Regions from separate parts of the Homo sapiens genome. Here all the other regions are linked to region 2. Evidence: promoter capture Hi-C in 16 types of primary human blood cells and fetal thymus (Javierre and others, 2016). All regions are on one chromosome and are shown on one strand. The core of a region is centred on a gene start or on the middle of the fragment in contact, and the rest is flanking DNA. Distances in the headings are between cores, read along the strand shown.

What was found. The method cuts DNA at HindIII sites, captures the fragments that hold promoters and counts their contacts. A CHiCAGO score of 5 or more calls a contact.
Region 1: a contact is called between a fragment that was not itself captured here and the fragment with the promoter of PYGO2 in region 2, in 5 of 17 cell types (fetal thymus, endothelial precursors, naive CD4 T cells and 2 more). The highest score is 7.5, in fetal thymus.
Region 3: a fragment that was not itself captured here is called in contact with the fragment with the promoter of PYGO2 in region 2 in 5 of 17 cell types (naive B cells, fetal thymus, activated CD4 T cells and 2 more); the score reaches 7.2 in naive B cells.
Region 4: a contact is called between a fragment that was not itself captured here and the fragment with the promoter of PYGO2 in region 2, in 1 of 17 cell types (M1 macrophages). The highest score is 5.3, in M1 macrophages.

The regions. Positions count from the first base shown.
Region 1 is chr1:154,569,563-154,572,713 of GRCh38, reverse strand. CHRNB2 (cholinergic receptor nicotinic beta 2 subunit) reads right to left here. Exons shown (of 6, transcript NM_000748.3): 2 at 3,107-3,151; 3 at 2,878-2,922; 4 at 2,347-2,456; 5 at 553-1,525. Among named protein-coding and RNA genes, the nearest start is that of CHRNB2, 3.4 kb to the right of the region's middle. The HindIII fragment of the contact is 3,612 bases long and covers 1-3,151 here.
Region 2 is chr1:154,959,738-154,963,285 of GRCh38, reverse strand. It overlaps PYGO2 (pygopus family PHD finger 2), which reads left to right and starts at 1,504. Exons shown (of 3, transcript NM_138300.4): 1 at 1,504-1,812; 2 at 2,260-2,309; 3 at 3,440-3,548. The coding sequence starts at 1,710. It overlaps SHC1 (SHC adaptor protein 1), which reads left to right. Exons shown (of 12, transcript NM_001130040.2): 12 at 1-988. PYGO2-AS1 (PYGO2 and SHC1 antisense RNA 1) reads right to left here and starts at 1,748. Exons shown (of 1, transcript NR_171036.1): 1 at 663-1,748. RefSeq lists enhancers at 417-1,156, 1,157-1,897, 3,502-3,548 and silencers at 1,039-1,448, 1,499-1,958. The HindIII fragment of the contact is 6,114 bases long and covers 1-3,548 here.
Region 3 is chr1:154,602,765-154,606,198 of GRCh38, reverse strand. The region is part of intron 1 of ADAR (adenosine deaminase RNA specific); the gene reads left to right. Among named protein-coding and RNA genes, the nearest start is that of ADAR, 3.7 kb to the left of the region's middle. The HindIII fragment of the contact is 265 bases long and covers 1,744-2,008 here.
Region 4 is chr1:154,586,690-154,589,520 of GRCh38, reverse strand. ADAR (adenosine deaminase RNA specific) reads left to right here. Exons shown (of 15, transcript NM_001111.5): 9 at 59-152; 10 at 848-970; 11 at 1,263-1,396. Among named protein-coding and RNA genes, the nearest start is that of ADAR, 20 kb to the left of the region's middle. RefSeq lists an enhancer at 1-821. The HindIII fragment of the contact is 3,100 bases long and covers 1-2,831 here.

The DNA.
Region 1 (3,151 bases), core at 131-2,630, 390 kb after region 2:
TGCTCTCCACCACAAGCAGGCTCCTGGAATCTCTAACCCCGCCACCAACGCCACCCCTCCCCCAATACACACCACTCCTACTGTCCTCAATGTTGCCCCCTCCTGCCTGTGTGGTGCACAAAAGACTCATCACTTGTGCTAAGAGCTGCAGGTTAACAACTTGGATGTGGGCATGCAAGCAGCGGGGGGTGGGGAGGGACTCTCGGGGTCACGGCCACAGGCTGGCTGCCAACCCTAAAGGGCCTCCTCGTGTTTCAGGCCTCCCTGCCCATATAACGATGCCCCAGCTCAGGCATTTTGCCCTGGGTGCTAGCCCTCAGGAAGCAGCAAGGTCATCTTCCACCGACTCCAATTTAGGCCGCACAATCTCCCGGAAGCCAACCCAGAAGGGCCCTAGCCAGCACCCAGGCCCGCAACACAGGCCTGACTCACATTTTCCTCCCCTACACTCCTACTACCTCTGCATGTCTATAGAACGCCGCTGCTTTCCAGATACCCGGGCCCTGGCAGACCCCATATCTCACGCCCGGGGTCCCAGCCTGCGGCACTCACGCTCTGGTCATCGTCCTCGCTCCGCATGTGGTCTGCGATGAAGCGCACGCCGTCCACCGCCTCCCGGAGGCCACAGCCACACGGCTCCCCTGAGCGCCCGGGGCCCGCCACTGGTGCAGGCTCAGCCCCGAAGGCCCCGGCCAACCCCTGCACCGACGCGCGGTTGACGAAGCACGTGCAGGAGTCGGCCCCTGGGGCTTCGCGGAAGAAGAGGGCTCCAGCGCCCTCGCGCTCACGCTGGCGTCGCCGCAGGCGCAGGCGCTGACGGGCGCAATGATGGCGTGGCTGCTGCATGAAGAGCAGCGCGGGCAGCTTCTCCAGGAAGACGACCTTCACCCAGGGCGCCATGGTGTGCGTGGTGGGCGAGCGGTGGTGCACGTTGAGCACGCACACGCTGGTGACGATGGAGAAGGTGACAAGCACCATGGTGAACATGAGGTACTTGCCGACGAGCGGCACGTCGAGGGAGGTGGGAGGCACGATCTTGGAGATGAGCAGCAGGAAGACCGTGAGCGCCAGCAGCACTGAGATGCACAACGTCATCTTCTCGCCACAGTCGGATGGCAGGTAGAAGACAAGGATGGCTAGCGAGGTGATGAGCACACAGGGGATGATGAGGTTGATGGTGTAGAAGAGCGGCTTGCGGCGAATGATGAAGTCATACGTGATGTCCACGTACGTAGAGTCGTCGGGGTTCTCGTTGCGCCGGCCCGGCAGCGCCACGATGTCCCACTCACCACTAGGTGTGAAGTCGTCCAGGCTGGCCACCTCACTCTTCAGCACCAAGTCGATCTCTGTGCGGTCGTAGGTCCACGAACGGAACTTCATGGTGCAGTTCTGCTGGTCAAATGGGAAGTGCTTTACTTCAATCTTGCATGCGCTCTTGTAGATGGCAGGCGGCAGCCAGAAGATGCTGCCATCATAGGAGACCACGGCATTGGAATAGAAGGACACCTCGTACATGCCGTCAGCACTGCCAAAGGATGGGCACAGTCAGCCCTGGCCTAAGCGTTCCTTCCTCCTTACCCATCAACCCAGCCCCTAATGGGAGGAGAGCAAAACCAGAGGGAGACATGGGGAGGGGACACCCAGATCTGAGAGTAACCATCCAGGAGTATAGAGAGGTGGAATTGAGCAAGAAGGGGATATGGGGAGGGGGGGGAAGGTTAGTGACCAGAAGAAGTGTCCTGGTCAGAAGGCCTGTGTGACACCTTGCAGGTAGAAGGGGGTGGTGGGTGGAGGAAGGGGACACATCTGCTACTTGTCACACATTGTATAAGCTGGTTGATCCTCATGAGGGTGGAGAAGTCAGGGGAGCCAGGAGGCCAGAGTGAGGAGCCCCAAGCAATGGAAGGGGACAGGGCATGGTCCCATCAGTTGAGGAAGGTGGCTTTGTACCCTAGAGATAAGATGGATTATTGCAGGAGACAGGATAGAACCTGGAGGAGAAACTGGGACCTTAAAGTTCTTTGATCCTTCCCAGGCTTCCAGGAAAGCCTGTTCCTGAATCAGTTGAGGCGCTGGGGGCTGTCAATACTTGTTTGTATCCCCACCACATCATCAAATACATACTGGGAGTCCTAACCGGCTGGGAGTGGGCTGGTCATTGCCCAGGTCACCTTGGCTGTCCACGCTGTACCTCACTGGTCTGGGTCTGTCTGTCTAGGTAGTGACTACATATCTATTATAAGTCCCTCCCCTCCCACAGCATAAGTAATTTCTCTTATTTTCCCCAGAACCCCTTCCCTCCCTGAGCCCTCCAATGGTCTCCCCCAACCTTCCCATTGCACCTACTTGTTGTACAGGACCACATCTGGGAGCCAGATGTGTTTGGAAGGGAGCCGAACTTTCTTCATGTTGTCAAACTCTTCAGGCTTCCAGGTGAGGCGATAATCTTCCCACTCCTGGGAAATGAGAGAGGGAGGCAGTACCAACTTGTGCCCTGGGTGGGGCTCAAGGTTAAGGAAACGAACTAGAGGGGGCCCATATGGCTTGAGGGACCTTTTAAAAGCCAGCCTCTTCCCCACAGTGACTTCTCTGCCCATCAGGTATGGCTCATGTGGTACTTTCTCATTTAATTTGCACAGCTAGGCCAAGGTACAGTATTAGAATCTACATTTACAAATGAGAAAATGAATCTTGGAGAGTTTAATATGTTTAAAGTCACAAGGCTGGTGAGTGCCAAGATTCAAATCCAATTGTTTAGGACTCCAAACTCTATACCTTTCTGCCTGTTTTGAGAGATTAAGAAAGAAAAAAGCACATGGGGAAAAAGGAGGAGAGAGAAGGCCAGGGGTGTGGGTGGAAGAGAGCACTTACGCTTACCTGGGTCAGCCAGACATTGGTGGTCATGATCTGCTCCCGCTCATGCTGCAGGGAGGAAGAGAGGCTGCCGAGAAGGCCCCTAAGCCTGTGGGGTCACTGCCACCACCCAGGGTCCCTCTCACACCTCCCCAAGCCTTGGAAACACCAGGGGAGGAAGCACACAAGCATTAACACATTTTGGCGGGGCTGATTTCAGTAGCTGGGCAGAGAGCCTGGGACCTCTACTCACCACACTGATGAGCTGGGCCAGTGACACCATAAGCTGTACTGTCAC
Region 2 (3,548 bases), core at 255-2,754:
CTTGGCTTCTGGGACCTGTGTTCTTGCTGAGCACCCTCTCCGGTTTGGGTTGGGATAACAGAGGCAGGAGTGGCAGCTGTCCCCTCTCCCTGGGGATATGCAACCCTTAGAGATTGCCCCAGAGCCCCACTCCCGGCCAGGCGGGAGATGGACCCCTCCCTTGCTCAGTGCCTCCTGGCCGGGGCCCCTCACCCCAAGGGGTCTGTATATACATTTCATAAGGCCTGCCCTCCCATGTTGCATGCCTATGTACTCTACGCCAAAGTGCAGCCCTTCCTCCTGAAGCCTCTGCCCTGCCTCCCTTTCTGGGAGGGCGGGGTGGGGGTGACTGAATTTGGGCCTCTTGTACAGTTAACTCTCCCAGGTGGATTTTGTGGAGGTGAGAAAAGGGGCATTGAGACTATAAAGCAGTAGACAATCCCCACATACCATCTGTAGAGTTGGAACTGCATTCTTTTAAAGTTTTATATGCATATATTTTAGGGCTGTAGACTTACTTTCCTATTTTCTTTTCCATTGCTTATTCTTGAGCACAAAATGATAATCAATTATTACATTTATACATCACCTTTTTGACTTTTCCAAGCCCTTTTACAGCTCTTGGCATTTTCCTCGCCTAGGCCTGTGAGGTAACTGGGATCGCACCTTTTATACCAGAGACCTGAGGCAGATGAAATTTATTTCCATCTAGGACTAGAAAAACTTGGGTCTCTTACCGCGAGACTGAGAGGCAGAAGTCAGCCCGAATGCCTGTCAGTTTCATGGAGGGGAAACGCAAAACCTGCAGTTCCTGAGTACCTTCTACAGGCCCGGCCCAGCCTAGGCCCGGGGTGGCCACACCACAGCAAGCCGGCCCCCCCTCTTTTGGCCTTGTGGATAAGGGAGAGTTGACCGTTTTCATCCTGGCCTCCTTTTGCTGTTTGGATGTTTCCACGGGTCTCACTTATACCAAAGGGAAAACTCTTCATTAAAGTCCGTATTTCTTCTACCTCTGCCTCTTAACCCTTCTGGGAAGCCTATTGTGTACGCCGCGGGCCCTCAGCGGCAGACGGGGAGGCGGGAGGTCGCGGCCGCCCAGGGAAGCTGGGGGTCTGCAGAGTTTGGGTGCGGCAGAGTGGGGCGTTTCGCGCCACCGTCCCCATGGGGATGTCGTGTCCGCAGAGGGGGCTGGCTCCGGGTGGGTCGAGGCGGGAGCCGGGCCTGCCCGGCGCCCCAGCACCGGCCCCCGGGCTACCTGGGCCTCCCGGGTGCGCCTTCGGCTCGCGCGCGCCCCTCCGCGGCGGCTCCACCGCCCGGGATGGTACGGTCCGGCAGCCGGGCCGCGCGCTGCCGCCCCTCGGTGAGCTGGTGTGGGCCGCCGCTAGCGGAGACGACCCTTTCCACTCGCGTGGTGCCGTGGTAAGCCTCGTCCCTCGCCCGCCGCCTGTTTTCAGGCGTAGCGTCTCGTCCGGTCCTTGCTCCCCCTCCCCGCAGCGCTCAGTGGTGGTGGCCGCGACGAGTTCCGGTTCCGGTTGCTGCCGCCGCTGGCGGGCGGCGAGTCTGGAGAGAGCGCGCAGTTTGCGCGGCGGCTCGGCGCTTCCCTGTCGTCGCACTTTGTGGTTGCTGCAGCTCGGGGGCCTGGGCTGCCCCTGACACCCCTTCTGGGCGATGGTGCAGCCCAAGGGCGCCTCCATCCCCCGCCGCTGCCGCTAACCCGGGTCCCCCACTCCATGGCCGCCTCGGCGCCGCCCCCACCGGACAAGCTGGAGGGAGGTGGCGGCCCCGCACCGCCCCCTGCGCCGCCCAGCACCGGGAGGAAGCAGGGCAAGGCCGGTGAGCGCGCTGCGAGGGGCGGGGGCTGAAGAGGCCCAGGACTTGGGAACCTCAGAGGGGAGGGATGGTGGGCGGGGGGTGTTTCACAGTCTGAAGGCTTGAAGGGAGGCTCAGGTGAAAAGGATGGGTGGGTGTAATCCTCCAGGGGTTGGGGGCAGGTGTCACACATTGAGGACTCTAGGGTTTGGAGCCACATGGAATTCAGTACTCACTTGGAGCTTGAGGATATCGAAAGATGGGATATCTTTCATTTAAAGGAAGACGTAGCTGAGAGTATGATCATCTTCACAATCTATTTTTCATATTGCACCCCTTGTTAGCATTTGTTGAATAAATAAGCAAGTATGTATTGACGTTAAAGGAGTTCCTCAGAGCATGGCTGAGAGAAAAGAGGTTGGGGAAACCTCAGGGAAACTTGTCTGCGTCTTCCTTTTGCCGCTCTTCCAGGTCTGCAAATGAAGAGTCCAGAAAAGAAGCGAAGGAAGTCAAATACTCAGGTGAATGGTGGTTGGTGGTGGGTTTGGTTCCCAGCAGCCCCTTGGCGGCACACTGTCTACTCTGCCATTCCAGTATCTGTTTGTATCTTGTATCAGCTGCAGGGAGGAGAGAGAAAACTGTCTTTCTTGCTTTGCTTCTTGTTCTTTCGCTGAACCTTATAACAAGTTTAGGGGAAAGTATCCTCTCCTAAGAGATGATTCGACCAAAGTTCTTACCACGCAGGGTTCCAGTCTCCTCCATGTTTCCTGTCCTGGTTTCCTCCTGATGATAACGTAACACCTACCACTTACTGATCCTTTTTTTAGTGCCAGGGATTGCGCTAACATGCTTTAACAGTTTGGGGAGATAGGCATTATCCCTATTTTACAGATGAGAAATCTGGGGGTTAAAAATGTTAAATACATGCTCCACAGTCTTGAGGTTGTTTTTCAGGGTCAGAGCTGGGATTCCATCCTAGTTCTGCCTGTTTTTAAAACATAGTTACTGCACTATGTTGGTTCCACTCTCCACCCTCTTTTTCTTGTCTTTTTTTTTTTCTTTTTTCTTTTCTTTTCTTTTCTTTTTTTTTTTTTGTAGTAACAGAGACTTGCTGTGTTACTACTCAAACTCATGGGCTCAAGGGATCCTCCTGCCTCGGCTTCCCAAAATGTTAGCATTACAGGTGTGACCCACTGTGCCTGGCCTGTGGTCCATTTTTTTTTTTTTTTTTTTGAGACGGAGTCTTGCTCTGTTGCCCAGGCTGGAGTGCAGTGGTATGGTCTTGGCTCACTGCAAGCTCCGCCTCCTGGGTTCACGCCATTCTCCTGCTTCAGCCTCCCGAGTAGCTGGGACTACAGGCGCCCACCACCACGCCCGGCTAATTTTTTTGTATTTTTAGTAGAGACGGGGTTTCACCGTGTTAGCCAGGATGATCTCGATCTCCTGACCTCGTGATCTGCCCGCCTTGGCCTCCCAAAGTGCTGGGATTACAGGCGTGAGCCACCGCACCTGGCCTGTGGTCCATATTGATTTTAGACCTGAGCTGCCCACAGTATCAGCCTCCAAAATGTGTATTGTGTTGGTAGTGCTCTCTTGGTTTAGCTCTGTGTTTCCCTCCATGACCCTCTTTCCCTCAACTGTTTCTCACTAGGGCCCTGCATACTCACATCTGACGGAGTTTGCACCACCCCCAACTCCCATGGTGGATCACCTGGTTGCATCCAACCCTTTTGAAGATGACTTCGGAGCCCCCAAAGTGG
Region 3 (3,434 bases), core at 627-3,126, 360 kb after region 2:
GTGGTGGCGTGCGCCTGTAATCCCAGCTACTCCGGAGGCTGAGGCAGGAGAATCACTTGAACCCGGGAGGCGGAGATTGCAGTGAGCTGAGATCACACTGCACTCCAGCCTGATTGCAGTGAGCCGAGATCATGCCACTGCACTCCAGCTTGGCAACAGAGCGAGACTCCGTCTCACAAGAAAAAAAATAACCGTGTGAGTACTATTCCATAGAATGAATGTTTCATAATTTAATTCTTCTATAGACAGACATTAAAATATTTTCCAGATTTGGGCCAAGAGTAGCAGTTTAAAAAACATTTAGCTTTTAACTGACTCTAGCCACTTTGAAACACAATTTTTTTTTCCCAAGGTCACTCAAAGAGCTAATAGGAGAACCCCTAAGTCCCATAATTCAGCTCTGGGAGCCAGCACTCACTCTGTACACACATTTGCCTCTGTCCCTAGCAATATGGTGGGCGTGAGGGTGCAGCAAGAGGAACAAGAAAGAAATGATTGCTTGCATAGTGGCGTCTTGTTCATGCAGTCATTAATTCAACAAATGTTTGTTGAGAATCAGCTTTGTGCCAAGTGCTAGAGAGGTTGAGATGATTGAAGCATAGTCCTTGACCCCCAAGAGCTCACCATGGAATCAACTGAAGCCCCTCATCAGTACTGTGTTGGGAATATTGAGAGTGGAGAGTTGAGTATAACTTATAGGACACCTAATGTTAATTACCTTTCAGACACTGCAATGTGTGTGTGCCATAAAAAAAAAAAAAATCCAGTAGCTCTGATACGAGGGAAAGTAAATGGTTTAACAGGTGCTGAGTAGGAGAAGCTCAAGGAGAGGAAACCCCAAGGGCTGAAGAAGGTGGGAGTCAGGAGTCTCCTGAAGCAAGTGGCATTTAAGGAGCTCTATAAGGAAAGGGTCAGAGTTGTGATAGGTGGCTGTGGAGGGAGATGTGCCACCTGGATTGGCATGTAGAGGGATAGAAAGATTATAGGCCTTTGCAATGGCCCAGTAAGAGGTAATGAGGGGCTGGAACTGGAAGAAAACACATTTAAGACACAGTACAGAGGTGGCAGACAAGGTGGGACTTGGCAACTACCTGATGAGATCCAGGAGATGAGGCCAGGAGGCGGGCAGCAAAGATGACGCAGGTTTCTAGCCTTAATAGGCTAGGAGGAGAGTGATGCCATTAGCAATAAGAACTACAGGAGAAGGAGCTGAGTTTGAGGGAACTATTAATTTGGTTCAGAATATGTGCTGTTTGAGTTATGGCAGGATATTTAAGTGGACAGACTGTCGACATAGTTGGAAATTCAGATCTTAAGCTCCCACACAAGGTAGTGGCTGGACATAGTAGATTTGAGTGCTCTTGCTTCAGAGGGCTAGTTTAGGTTGGGGCAGTGATTAAAGCAACCTAGGAAATAAATTATAAAGGAAGAAGAGGTCCTTAAAACCTTGGAGACTGATTATATAAAGGGTGGATCCGTTAATACAGTAGCTATTAAAAAATTATAAGGGGTGGGAAAAAGGGACAAAGAAGAAAAAAGAGGTGAAAGACCTTTGCTGTGTCACCAAACCCTGGGAGGAGAATTTTTTAAAAGAAGAGTACTCAATCCACAGTGAACTAAGGCATGTTTGTTAAACACAATTGACCACCACACAGCGAAGACCCAAATGAGGTTCAAGAGAAGGAATTTTTATGGACCCTGTTAGCACAAGTCAAGGTCCTTCTCCAGTACCACTGGGAAGCTTTGGAGAAGAAAAGGGGGACAGTGGGCCTTGGGTGGAGAAGGGAACTGACCATGAGATCCAGGTGGGGTGAGGAGGTGTGTGAAGTCAGAGTGGGGAAGAATCAGGGTGGCTTACTGGCAGCTTCACCGGGGTCATGCGAGGAGCAGGTTCCACCAGAGTAAGGAGTGAAGTTGTAGAAACACAGGGAAGTCACCATCAGAAAAGAGCAGGAGTCAAGAAACTATGGCCCACAGGTACAAACTACCTGTTTTTATAAATAAAGCTTCATGGTAAATGAATTGTAAATAAAGTTTTGCATATTGTGTGAGGCTGTTTTTGTGCTACAGTGGCAGAGCTGTCTGGCCCTTTATAGAAAAAGTTTATCAGCCACTGGAAAAGAGTTGCAGGATTTGAGGTCTTGGTGTGATGGCCTAGGTTAGAGTCATAGTGAGATTGAAGGAGTAGCTAGACAAGCCAATTGTGTGGCAGAAAGGTAGGGATGGAGATCACTGGGTTAAGGATCCTTGTAGCCAGGACACCATGAGAGTGATTGACAAGAATGCTGAAATCCCCTAAGTGTGTCAGGATGTGGAAGAGTAGAAGGCTAGAGTTATGGAAGAAAGGGTCCCACCTCTACCTGTGCAGCCTCCAGGAGAGTCTGAGGAGGGGGCGGTGAGTGTGAGTAAATGTTGTCAGAATCCCTCCTCCCAGTCTACAAGCCCCAGGGAAAGGAAGCAAGGTGTTTACTGACACCCCCAGGCTTATAAGTACTTCCTGGCTCCATCACCCTCCAGTGAACAGCCCTGGGGAGAAGACAGTACTGGTTTGCAGGTGGGTGGGTGGGGAAAGGGGTCACAGGTGCTTGGTGTTCTGGTAAATGTGCATATGAGAACATGGGGTTGCTTGTGCCCTGTCCGTCAGGGTTCAGAAGAACGTGCAGTGGAAGCAGCTATGGGGAAGTAGCTAGGGAAGGTAGGACTGGTCTGAGGTGGTGAGGAGCAGATGCTGCCAGCTCCACACATCCAGGAGAGCCTGGGTGGTTTGGGCAAAAGTCTCTGGCATCCCTTCTGAGCCTGGGTACCACACTGAAGAGTGAGGACAGTGTGCCATTTTTATCAGGAAACCCTCCAGCTCCCTGAAGACCAAATTCTGATCCTCCTGGGATGGCAGTGAAGAGCCACAGAGATGACTCTGAGGTCCCGTGGCCTTTTCCCACCTGGAGATTGTTTTCGTTACTGCGCTGTTACAGCCTTGGAGGACTGGGGTTCAGTTTCATCCAATCACATTTCTTCTTTTGTCATAGTCATCTAAACGATAGATCTTAGAGACAGGTGGGCAAGGGGTGCACTGGTGAGCCTGACTTAAGGAGAGGTCATCTCGTCCCTTCCCTAGTCCCATCTCCCTTGGTTATTGTTATTTCATGTGATTGTTCTGGTTATTTCAGGTTATTCTGTTTTTGTTTTCAAAACAATAACATATATTTGTTGTTCTGATTTTAAAGGGGTAATTGTTTTGGTAACTAGAAAATTACCTTCTCAACTCCCTTAAATTCTGTCAAAGGGAAAAGTAAGTTAGGTTGCTGGAGAGGCTATGCTGAGGCCTCAGAACCTCTGTATTCCTGGAAGTTCTGCGTGCTTTGCCTCCTGCTCCCCTCTCTGTGTTCCTGTTGGCAGGCCCCTAGGCAGGATTTAGGAGGTAGGCAAGTCACCCT
Region 4 (2,831 bases), core at 281-2,780, 370 kb after region 2:
TCCTGTTTTCCATCGGTTTCCTTCCATTATTCTATTTCTGTTTTAAACACCTTCCTAGGGAATCGCTGTGTGAAAGGAGATTCTCTCAGCCTAAAAGGAGAAACTGTCAATGACTGCCATGCAGAAATAATCTCCCGGAGAGGCTTCATCAGGTGAGCGAGGTCAGAGCTGTGGCCCGGCTGCCCGGCTGTGGAGAGCTCCAGTTCCCTGCCCCACATGGCTCTGACACGGCCTCTGAATCCCCCTCAGACAGACGGGTCATGATGTGGCAGTGGCAGCCTTTGCTTTTCACCCGTCCATTTGAACCTGTCTGATGGAATCCATCCCCTCTGTGAGCTGAGCTGCCTCCCACTGCTCGGCCTGTTTTTAAATGCTGTCCTTTTTTCTGCTAACTCTGCTGCTTCATGTTCTTTTCTAAAAACACAAAATGACCTTTTAGTCCTCAGGGCCTTGAGGATGAGGCAGCTTTCCATTTCCGTTTGAGGACCTACACAACCTTGATGCCCCTGCCAGCTTTCTCCTCTAGCTCACCTTTTCTTTAATTTATGAAGGGAGAGACTTAGAAAGGAGCAACAGCTTCCTGTAGTCCTTGAATCAGTTTGCTCTGCTCTAGAATCCCTGTAGCCGCCATAGCGAGGAGCCCTCAGCAGAAATGAAGGAGACCCAAAAGGCTAACTATGCTTTATGAAATGCTGAGGTCTCCCCTGGAGAATTTCCACCTGATAAACTGTGAAACGTCTGCAACATTGAGACTTTTCCTTACTTTCTCATTTGGAGGTCAGATTATAGAAACAACTGCTTTTCCCAGAATTGAACCTGCCTTCCTAACCAGACTTTCTTTTTGTAGGTTTCTCTACAGTGAGTTAATGAAATACAACTCCCAGACTGCGAAGGATAGTATATTTGAACCTGCTAAGGGAGGAGAAAAGCTCCAAATAAAAAAGACTGTGTCATTCCATCTGTATATCAGGTCTGTACAGTTCCTGTTGCTGCCAGGGTGGGCCCTGCCAGGCTGTTAGAATTGGGTATCCAAATGCTCTCCTGGCCTGTAAATCGAACCTGATACAATAAGCCACACTCCACTGTGGGTTTGAGGTCCATATTCAGGTGTAGATGACTCACATGTACTGCTGTCCACCTCCAGTCTCCCATGGTAGGCCTTAGAAAACATCCCTTGCTTCTGTCACATCTGACTGTTTTGGAGCCCCACGAAATTGCAGATTTCCCACAGGTGAGTTTTAACAGCCACCCCTGTTTTTCAGCACTGCTCCGTGTGGAGATGGCGCCCTCTTTGACAAGTCCTGCAGCGACCGTGCTATGGAAAGCACAGAATCCCGCCACTACCCTGTCTTCGAGAATCCCAAACAAGGAAAGCTCCGCACCAAGGTGGAGAACGGTGAGTGATACATGCCCCCGCCTCCTTTCCTCAAAAGGCTCTGCAAGGTCCAGGGACCCCAAGTCTCTACAAGGCTGCTAGGATTTTACCATTAGTCACTGGGCACAGAGGTGCTGTTTACAGGAAAGGGAAGACCTGGGTCAGGGAGCTGTGTGGTAAGATCAGGGTTCTATTTTGAATGTGTTAGTTTGGGAGATCTGGGAGATCCCCAAGTCAAATAGGAGGTGGGGGTTCCCATGTGGAGCTCAGAGGAGGGAGCTTGGCTGGAAATAGAAATATGGGAGTCATCCCCCTATAGGGTCTTCATGGCCATGAGAATGCATAGGATTACCTCAAGAAAGCGGGGAGGAAATGAAGAGTGCGGCACAACCAAGCCCTGAGGAGTTGACAGATGAGGATGCCAAATGCTGGGGTCCCCTCCTGTCTAGCTGGCAGTTGACTCTGCCTTGTCCACTGGCTCCTTCTCTCCTATCCTCTCCTGTCTCCTTACTGTCTCTTCGCATCCACTCCATTGCGTTCAGGCCACGTCAGCAGTCATCATGGTGGTCCTGAAACCTTGCTAAATACCCTAAAGTATAGACACAGTTACCATGGAGCCGGTGCTCCACTCCTAGGTATATGCTGCAGAGAGATGGAGATCTGTGTCCACACGGAAACTAATATGTGAATGTTCATGGCAGCATTACTCACAAGAGCCAAAAAAGTGGAAACAACCCAGACGTCCATCAGCTGATGGATTCATAAATAAAACATCAAATATATCCATAAATTGAATATTATTTTGGCCATAAAAAGAAGTGAAGTGCTGATACATGCTTACAATATGGATGCACTTGAAAACTTGATGCCAAATGAAAAAAGCCAGTCACAAAAGATCACATATTGTATGATTCCATTTATATGAAATGTCCAGAATAGACAAATCCATAGAGACAGAAAGTAGATGAGTGGTTGCCAGGGCCAGGAGTGGGAGAGTTGGAGAGATGAGGAGTGACTGCGCCAATGGGTAGAAGGTTTCTTTTTGGAGCGATGAAATGTTCTAAAATTGACTGTGGTGACAGTTGCAGAACTCTGTGAATATACTAAAAATGACTGAATTGTATGCTTTAAATGGGTGAACTGTATGGCATATGAACTATATCTCAGTAAAGCATTTTTTTTTGTTTTTTTTTAAACCCGATAGTGGTTTCCCACTGCACTGCATATACAAGCAAAACCTGCTGTGATCACCCGGCCTCCTCTCATGCCACTTTCCCCATCCCTCGCATATGCTCTGTCCACACTGGCTCTCTGTCAGGCGCCTGAACAGCCAATCCGCTGGCTGCCTTGGGGCCTTTGCTTTTGTCCTGTGTGCCTGAAACACTTACTCCAGCTGTCCTCCTCCATGTCTGGGCTCCCCTGCTGCTGCTGTCCCAGGAGGTGTCCCCTGTGGTCC